Linked DNA regions of Homo sapiens: region 1 is linked to region 2. Evidence: promoter capture Hi-C in human tissues and cell types (Jung and others, 2019). All regions are on one chromosome and are shown on one strand. The core of a region is centred on a gene start or on the middle of the fragment in contact, and the rest is flanking DNA. Distances in the headings are between cores, read along the strand shown.

What was found. The method cuts DNA at HindIII sites, captures the fragments that hold promoters and counts their contacts. A contact is called where the count stands out against the background at its distance.
Region 1: a fragment that was not itself captured here is called in contact with the fragment with the promoter of CCDC179 in region 2 in 1 of the 25 tissues and cell types used here (mesendoderm cells).

What each region holds. Positions count from the first base shown.
Region 1 is chr11:23,553,924-23,558,392 of GRCh38, reverse strand. No RefSeq gene overlaps it. Among named protein-coding and RNA genes, the nearest start is that of MIR8054, 140 kb to the right of the region's middle. The HindIII fragment of the contact is 3,682 bases long and covers 501-4,182 here.
Region 2 is chr11:22,858,565-22,862,603 of GRCh38, reverse strand. It overlaps CCDC179 (coiled-coil domain containing 179), which reads left to right and starts at 2,130. Exons shown (of 4, transcript NM_001195637.2): 1 at 2,130-2,227; 2 at 3,108-3,152. The coding sequence starts at 2,183. The region is part of intron 3 of LINC02718 (long intergenic non-protein coding RNA 2718); the gene reads right to left. The HindIII fragment of the contact is 9,229 bases long and covers 1-4,039 here.

The sequences.
Region 1 (4,469 bases), core at 1,092-3,591, 700 kb before region 2:
AAATATTACACTCAGGTGACAATGGTGATTGGTTGAGAGGCAAATAAAAATAACTTAGGGCTTTCCACTGAGAATTTAGTATATGGATCAGTGAACATAACCAAAAGCTGGAGAAAGACTTAGTAGCGACTGAATTCATCACTCCAAAATCCAGAATACACTTGATATTTTTAGTATAAATTGAGTTTCTTTCATGTGGAACCAAAAAATAAATCTTTAATAAAATCATATGTATATATATGATTTTTTACATATATATTTTGTATAGATCACCATTACTTTGATATTAGTAGGAGAGATTTTTATGATAGAGAGAGCAGAGAAAAGGACATCAAATAAACACATTAGTAGGAAAGATGATGAGGGCCAAAATTGAGGCAGTGTTCCTAAGATTAGAGGATGAAGGCCTTGTCTGTTGTGTTATTTCCTTTGGAATTCTAGGCTCCCAGATAAGGTACTAGCCATATATTGTACCCAAAATTTACTGAATGAAAGGCCAGTGTATGAAATCATGATGGAGACACTCACAAGAGTTATGAGTAATGGTGCAAGAAAATGAGGAATTGAGTACGAGGCTTATATTTCTAGTGAGGACAACTGGGTAGATGGTAATGTCATCATTTAAGTGAGAGGATAAGGAAGGTGCTTTAAAAAAGAATAGACAACAGGCTATTCAGGGAAAAACATGGATGCTAGGCCAGCATATTTTACAGTAACAAATATAGTGGTTTCGGATATAGTTTAAAGCTAAAGTTTACTATTAAAAATAAAAAAGTAATATATAGGTATAATGAAATTCTTTTTCAAGAGGATGCTTATTAGTAAGATTCTCATAATTTCAAAAGTCTCCAGATGTTATTTTTAAAACAAATATTTGATAAATGCCTTCAATTGCCACACATATTTCTATGAATTGGTAGTAGCGGGTAGATAGCAGTGGCATTGTTCATGCTAGAAAATGGGGATAAAAAACTAATAAAGTTTGGGTGGGATAATGGAAAACAAAAAATACAAATTGTGTATTTGAGATAATTGTTAACTTTTGGTTTTTAATTTATGTTAATATTTATGTTATTTTTCTTTTCCATGTGCTTAGTGATTCAAGATAGCAGAACTCCATATACACTCACTAAAATTTTCCTGATACTTTTAGCTATACCCCAAGGCAATCCCATTTATTGAATTTTACCCAAAGTTTTAGTCTCAACTAATATTTTTATTTGAAGTTATCTAATATTATATAATGATATATTTTACTGCATTCCTCATAAGCTTATTTGTTGCATATTCAACAGTTTTATTTCCTATACAACCATAGTTCTGTAAGTTAAAGAGCTATGCTTTATTTCTCTTGACATGTTCCAGGGTTTCTAGAAATATGCATGGCAATTGAAGATACTCACCAAATACCTGTTTTTAAAATGACATTTAGGAGGTAGAGCAAGATAGTGGAAGAGAAACCTCCACTGATCATCTCCACCCGTCCCCACAAACAAGGACACCAATTTAAAAACTATCTACCAAAAAAAGCACACCTTCATAGCTCCTGCAAGCCTTGCCATGATGATGGGCTAAAGTGTTCCAGGGCGCTAAATAAACTCCAAAGGCAGTCTAGGCCACAAGGACTGTAACTTCTAGATGAGTTCTAGTGTGGAACTGGACCCAGAGACAGTGAAATAGGGAGTATGTGACCCACTGAGACACCAGCTGGGGCAGCTAAGGGAGTGCTTGCATCATCCCTCCCCCAGCCCCAGGCAGCACAATTTGCAGCTCCAAAAGAGACCACTTCCTTTGACCTAAGCAGCAGAGACAGAAGGGTGAGGAGGACTTTATCTCGTGCCTTTGATACCAGCTCAGCCACAACCAGATAGGGCTCCATTCAGAGTTCTGAGTCCCCATTTCCAGGCCCTAGCTCCTGAATAACAATACCAGACACACTTTGGGCCAGAAGGAAGCTGCCACTTTGAAGGAAAGAACCCAGTCCTAGCAGCATTCCTCACTTGCTAACTGAAGAGCCCTCAGGCTATGAATAACCAGAAACAATACCCAGGTACTATGTTATCAGCTTTTGGTAAGAGTTTGAGACTTGCTGGCTTCAAGTCCCGGCTCAGTCAGAAGGAGGTAGAGCACAAAGCAGGCTCTTGGGTTTTCAGAATCTAGGACATGGCTCTTAGACAGCATTTCTAGACCTTCCCTGGGCCAGAAGGGAGCCCAGTGCCCTAAAGGGTGAGTCCCAGGCCAGGCAGCATTCACCACAAACTGACTGAAGAGCCCTTGTGCTTTAAGGGAACATTGGCAGTAGTTTAACAGTACTTCTCATGGGCCTGTGGTGGCAGTGGCCACAGAGTGAGGTTCCCCTGCCTTTGGTGAAGAAAGGGAAGAATGAAAAGAACTTTGTCTAGTGCTTTGAGTGCCAGCTCAACTACAATATACTAGGACACCATGGTAGACTTCTAAGGTTTTAAATCTAGTCTCTGGTGCCTGGAAAGCACCTCTAGACCTGCCTGGGCCTGGAAGAAGTCACTACACTGAAAGGAAGGACATAGACCTACCTGGCTTTGCCATCTGCTAACTGTAGAATCCCAAGGCCTTGAGCAAACATAAACAGTAGCCAGGGAGTAGTTAGAGCAAGCCTTGTGTGAGACTCAGTGCTGTGCTGGCTTCAGGTCTGATCCAGTGAAGTAATACTGGTGGTGGCTGCCAGGGTGCTTATGTCTCCCCACCACCAGGTTCAGGTGGCTTAGAGAAAAGAGAAAGACTCAATTTCTTTGGGAGAAAGTAAGGGAAGAGAACAAAAGTCTCTGCCTGGTAATCCAGAGAATTCTCCTGGATCTTGTCCAAGACTGTCAAGGTGGTACCTCTATGAATCTGCAAGAACCACAGAGTTACTTGGATTGGGGTGCTCCCTAAAGCAGTTACAGCTTAGATCACAAGACCCAAATTTTTAATATGTAGAATATCTGGAAAGCCTCCCCAAGAAAGATGAACACAAACAAGCCTAGACTGCAAAGACCACTATAAATACCTAACTCTTTAATGCCAAGACACGGATGAACATCTGCAACTATCAAGACAATCCAGGAAAACATGATCTCATTAAATGAACTAAATGAGTCACCAGGGACAAAGCCTGAAGGAACAGAAATATGTGACCTTTCAGACAGAGAATTCAAAATAGCTGTCTTGGGGAAACTCAAAGAAATTCAAGATAATACAGAGAGGAAATTCAGAATTCTATCAGATAAATTTAACAAAGAGAATGAAACAATTAAAAAGAATCAAGCAGAAATTCTGGACCTAAAAATGCAACAAGCATACTGAAGAATGCATCAGAGTCTTTCAGTAATGGAATTAATCAAGTAGAAGAAACAATTAGTGGACTTGAAGGCAGGCTCTTTGAAAATGCACAGTCAGAGGAGACAAAAGTAAGAAGAGTAAAAAGCAATGAAACATGCTTATGGCATCTAGAAAATAGCCTCAAAAGGGCAAATATAAGAGTTATTGGCCTTAAAGAGGAGGTAGAGAATGTGATAGGGGTAGAAAGTTTACTCAAAGGGATAATGACTAGAATTTTCCAAACCTAGAGAAAGATATCAATATCCAAGTATAAGGCCATAAAATACCAAACATTTAACCCAGAGGACACTACCTCAAGGCTTAACAATCAAATTCCCAAAGGTCAAGGATAAAGAAAGGATCCTAAAACCAGCAAGAGAAAAGAAACAAATAACATTCAATGGAGTTCCAATATGTCTGGTAACAAACTTCAGTGGAAACCTTACAGGCCAGAAGAGAGTGCCATGACATACTTAAAGTACTGAAATAAAATAACTTTTATCCCATAATGATATATCCAGCAAAAATATTCTTCAAACTTGAAGGAGAACTAGAGGCTTTCCCAGACAAAAAGAAGCTAAGAGGTTTCATCAATACCAGAACTGCCCTATAAAAAATGCTAAAGGGTATAGTTCAGTCAGAAAGAAAAAGACCTTAATGAATTATAAAATTGATGAAACTGAAAAATTCCTATTTTATTCATTGAGCTATTCCAAGTAACTAGAATGAATATCAGTAAACAGTAAACAATAATATTTATAGAATGAATTAATCAACTGGATATCATTTAGTTATTTTATTGTTGGTCTGAAGTTACTAAATTTGCCACATTATCTACCTCCAGAGGGCACCATCTATGCTGTAGTTTATATGAAGAGCATTCCCTGGAGTTGTGCAGGGCATGGCTGTCAGGGTTCTGGGACAGTGCTCTCCGCCCTGTTAAAACATTGTAAGCTCCATGAAAATAGAAATGTAGGGCTATATATATACTATATCCTCAAACCTTGGAACCCTTTCTGAAACATAGTATACACTTATTAAATTATTATGTAGTAAATAAATGAAAGAAAATTAGAATTTAAAAACTCCATTAAAAACAGAAGAGGTTTGCAATTCCTGTGTGAGGCTTAGCT
Region 2 (4,039 bases), core at 881-3,380:
TGTCTGTACAACACAACATGTATTATTATTGAAGCTCACTATACATTTTCTACCTTTTTGTTTTTGCTAATCTATCTGACTGCCTTTGAGGGCAATAATTTATTCATTTTGTATGCATAGGACTTGGCATGATATGTGACAGTAGCATTCAAAACATTTTCTATAGTGTGTCAAGTCAATTCCTGGTTTGTGATAATGGGGAAGTTTATATGATTTTTCTACAACTTATTGCTCCCAGAGGGGAGTTTCAAGAAGAGCATGGATAATGATTTTGAACATTACAGTTGGGCAAAACTGTTTACTTTTTCTAAGCCTAACTCATCAGAAAGACTTTTCAGCAGTTTCTAACGTGATACAAAAATCATATGATAGAAACTGTCCATTGAATTCAGGAGAAAGATCATTTGATTAACCATTTTGAGAAAAGCACCAGTGGAACAGTGGGAGTTGAAACAGGTTTCAGTAAGCCAAATCTTACACTGAACATAAAGAAGAGGCAGAGGTACAGACCACTCTCATGAATATTTACTTTATATAGAGGGGATGGGCAATAGATACAATTGGTTGTTGTTCTAAGGAGTTTCCTTTATTAGTTTGGAGAGGGGGAGATTTGAACTTACAGTAATGAAATGTTTAAAGGAAAGAGGCAATATAGAGAAGTTAACAAGGAGAGGAACAATCTGTAGAGCTAGATCTGAGGAGGCTCCTAGGAGGGAAATGGCATGCAAATGCAAATGGATAGATTTATTTGAGGCAACAGAAGGGATACCAATTTTTTTTTCCATTTCGACAGGGTTACAGGGAAAAGGATAATGTGGATATTGACAAGGTTATAGGATTTTAGGTGGTATTGAGGTAGCCCCAGTGAGGGCTTCAAAAGCAATGGTAGCATAGCACATAATTAGGAGCACATGATCTAAGGGCCAACCCTGGATTTAAATTCCAGCTCACCCTCTTACTAATAGCGTAACTTCAAGAAAGCAATTTAACATGCTAGCGCCTTGTTTCCCAGTGATTATAATCATGCCCTTACCCACCTTGAGTGGTCTAAAGACTTGATCAGTTAACACATATAAATTCATGTAACAGTGCTGAGCATAGTAAGCTCTATACATGTTCACCAGCATCAGAGTGTGAAGCACGGATTGTCCCACTTCTACTGGAAGTGCCTGAGTGTTGGTGGATTCAGAGATTTTAATAGAAGACAATTTGAAGGGAATACTGCAGAGCACAAAAAAAGCTGGTGCAACATAAAAGTCTTAAGCAGCTTTGAGGACCCAGTTTAAATTGGGGGTCACGGCCGGGCCTGGTGGCTCACGCCTGTAATTTCAGCACTTTGGGAGGGCAAGACGGGTGGATCACCTGAGGTCAGGAGTTTGAGAACAGCCTCCAATATGGTAAAACCCTGTCTCTACTAAAACTACAAAATCATTAGCCAGGCATTGTGGCATGCGCCTGCAGTCCCAGCTACTCGGGAGGCTGAGATGGGAGAATTGCTTGAACCCTCGAGGTGTAGGTAGCAGTGAGGTGGAGGTAGCAGTGAGCTAAGATTGTAGCACTGCACTCCAGCCTGGGCGACAGAGAGACTTGGCCAAAAAAAAAAAGAAAAAAGAAAATAAATAAATAAATAGATCTGGGGTCACAAATATGTATTCCAGCCATCTTCAAGCTTCTCCTCACTTCATCTGGTATAGATAGATGGGAAGAAGGCAGACAGTTGGGTCAGCCCAACTAGAAGCTGTGAAGGAACAACAATGAGGTGGTGGAATTGAGAACCCTAACAATAGATAGACAGTCTGAAGTAAGAGAACATGGAGACTAAGCTAGATATGTTAACAAATGAAAGGGGCTTTATAAAGAGAGAGACTAGAGAGATGAAGGGTAGAAAAGGTGGGAAATTGGTATTCTGCAATTTTCTGAGGAAGAAGGATAGGATATAAGGAATTATGGTAAACTGACTTCCATAACTCAAAGACACTGCAGACAACTTGAGGCCTTGCCTTCCCTGCACTGGACTGGAATACAACTGGGGAAAGGGTGGGGCCCATAGCAGGGAGAAGAATAAAGAGAATAGTGATGGAACTGGGTGGGGCAGGGCTTGAAGGCTGTGGGTGTGGGGCCCCATAATCATTTGGTCCAGGACAGGCAGTAGGCGTCAGGGGGCGCCCTAAGGCTCCACGGCATGTGCCTGTATTGCTGGGACATCGAGCCTTCCCAAGTCAACCCTGTGAGTCTGCTGGGGCCTACAACCTCAACTCTGCCACTCTGTCCTGTGCCTTGAGCTCCAGGCCACTGTGGCCTTGGCCATGGTGCTTCTAACTCTTGTAAATGTGGTTTGGTGCTGGGGGTTGGGAAATTCCAGGTGATGTAGACAGACTACATCCTGACTGCTGGACCCCTCTGAAACAAGAAAAAGCTCCACCCACTGTGTGCTTAGGGGTCAGGTACATCACCTGTATGTTGACTGCCCCATTGGCCTGCCCTAGGAGGTGGAGTGGAAATTACAGAAGTAGGGAGCAGGATAAAGTTCTCAATTGCCAGATGTGGAACAGATTGCTCTTGGGTCTTCTGGTTAAAAGATTGGATCAAAACGAGTGAAGGAGGAGTTATTTAAGGTACAATCAAGAAATAGAGGAAGTGGTGAGAATCTCGAAAACTAACAGCCAAGCTCCCTGTGCTTCAGAAAACCATACGATCTCAATCACATCACCAATTACTCCTAGGCTTTGAAACCAGATTGAAGACTAGATTGCTCAATAGCACCACTGAAGTCCTGTAGAAGCAGAAACATGCATTTTTCGATTTCTCGTACATTCTTTCCCTCCCGAATATATCTCTATACTCTGCCTTTTATCTGTAAGGTGGTTCACAGCTGGTTCTTTTTTATCATAATATCGTCTCCATCTTCCACCACAATTTTTATCTTAGATGTTTTTATTCTGAACTTGACTTTTTTCTTTTTGTTTTTTTAACCTGCTTCTTATAGTTGAAATGATTCATATAATACATAAATTTAAAAGTAGCATAGGCTTCCTATTATAATAATTAATTTACTGTTTTTAATGACTTTTTTGTGTGAATGTGTTTTAATTTTGTTTATTATATAGGAAGGACCAAGACAACATCATCCTTCAGAGGTCACTGAGCGGCAGGTAATGTTTAAATAAAGAACTAGGTTCTGGTTGTTTAAACATTGTGCTTGTAACTTGTTCCTTTATGTAGTGGTCCCTAACATAATAGAACTTGTATTAAGTAGACACTTCAGTATATTTCTTGGGACTCTGGGATCTAATGACTACTATTGGAATGGGTCTTAACTAGGGTAAACTAAATGGCTTATGTTATTTTTTAATGTAACATTTGACACATATACAAAAATAGATGTGGCAGATATAATTTATAAATTACAATATGCCTCCCATTTAAGGATTAAAATATTAGGTATTTCTGAATCCAGCTAGGGAATGCTTTTCTATTCTACCTCCTAAGGTCTCTCCCAGAGGTGACCTCCATCTTGAATTTTAGCTACATCAATCTCTTCCTCTTCTTTAATAGTTTGTTACATAGGTGTCTCTATAAGTGCACTATTTGCTTTTGCTTGGTTTTGAACTTTATAAACATAGGATCACACAAAATTTAGTGTATGATTTACTCTTTTTTCTCAATATTATTTCCTAAGATTTATCTACATTGCTGTATATAGTTTCTTTATTTTCACTGCTGTTCAATATTTTGTCATGGAACATATCACAGTTCATTAATCCTTTCTCTTGTTTATGGACATTGTGTTATTTTTACATTTTCCTAAAATGAATAGTACTATTGCAAACATTCTAGTACACATCTTCTTGCCCCATGCACAAGAATGCCATTTGATTATTTAGGCAGGAGTGTAATGGTTGAATCATAGGAAAAGCAAATTTTTTATTGTTAGAAAGTAGTGCCACACTGTTTTCAAAGCAATTGTTCAAGTTTATATTCTGTTATCAGTGGATTTTTTAAAAAGTTGGTTTTCAAAGCAATTGTACCAATTGATACT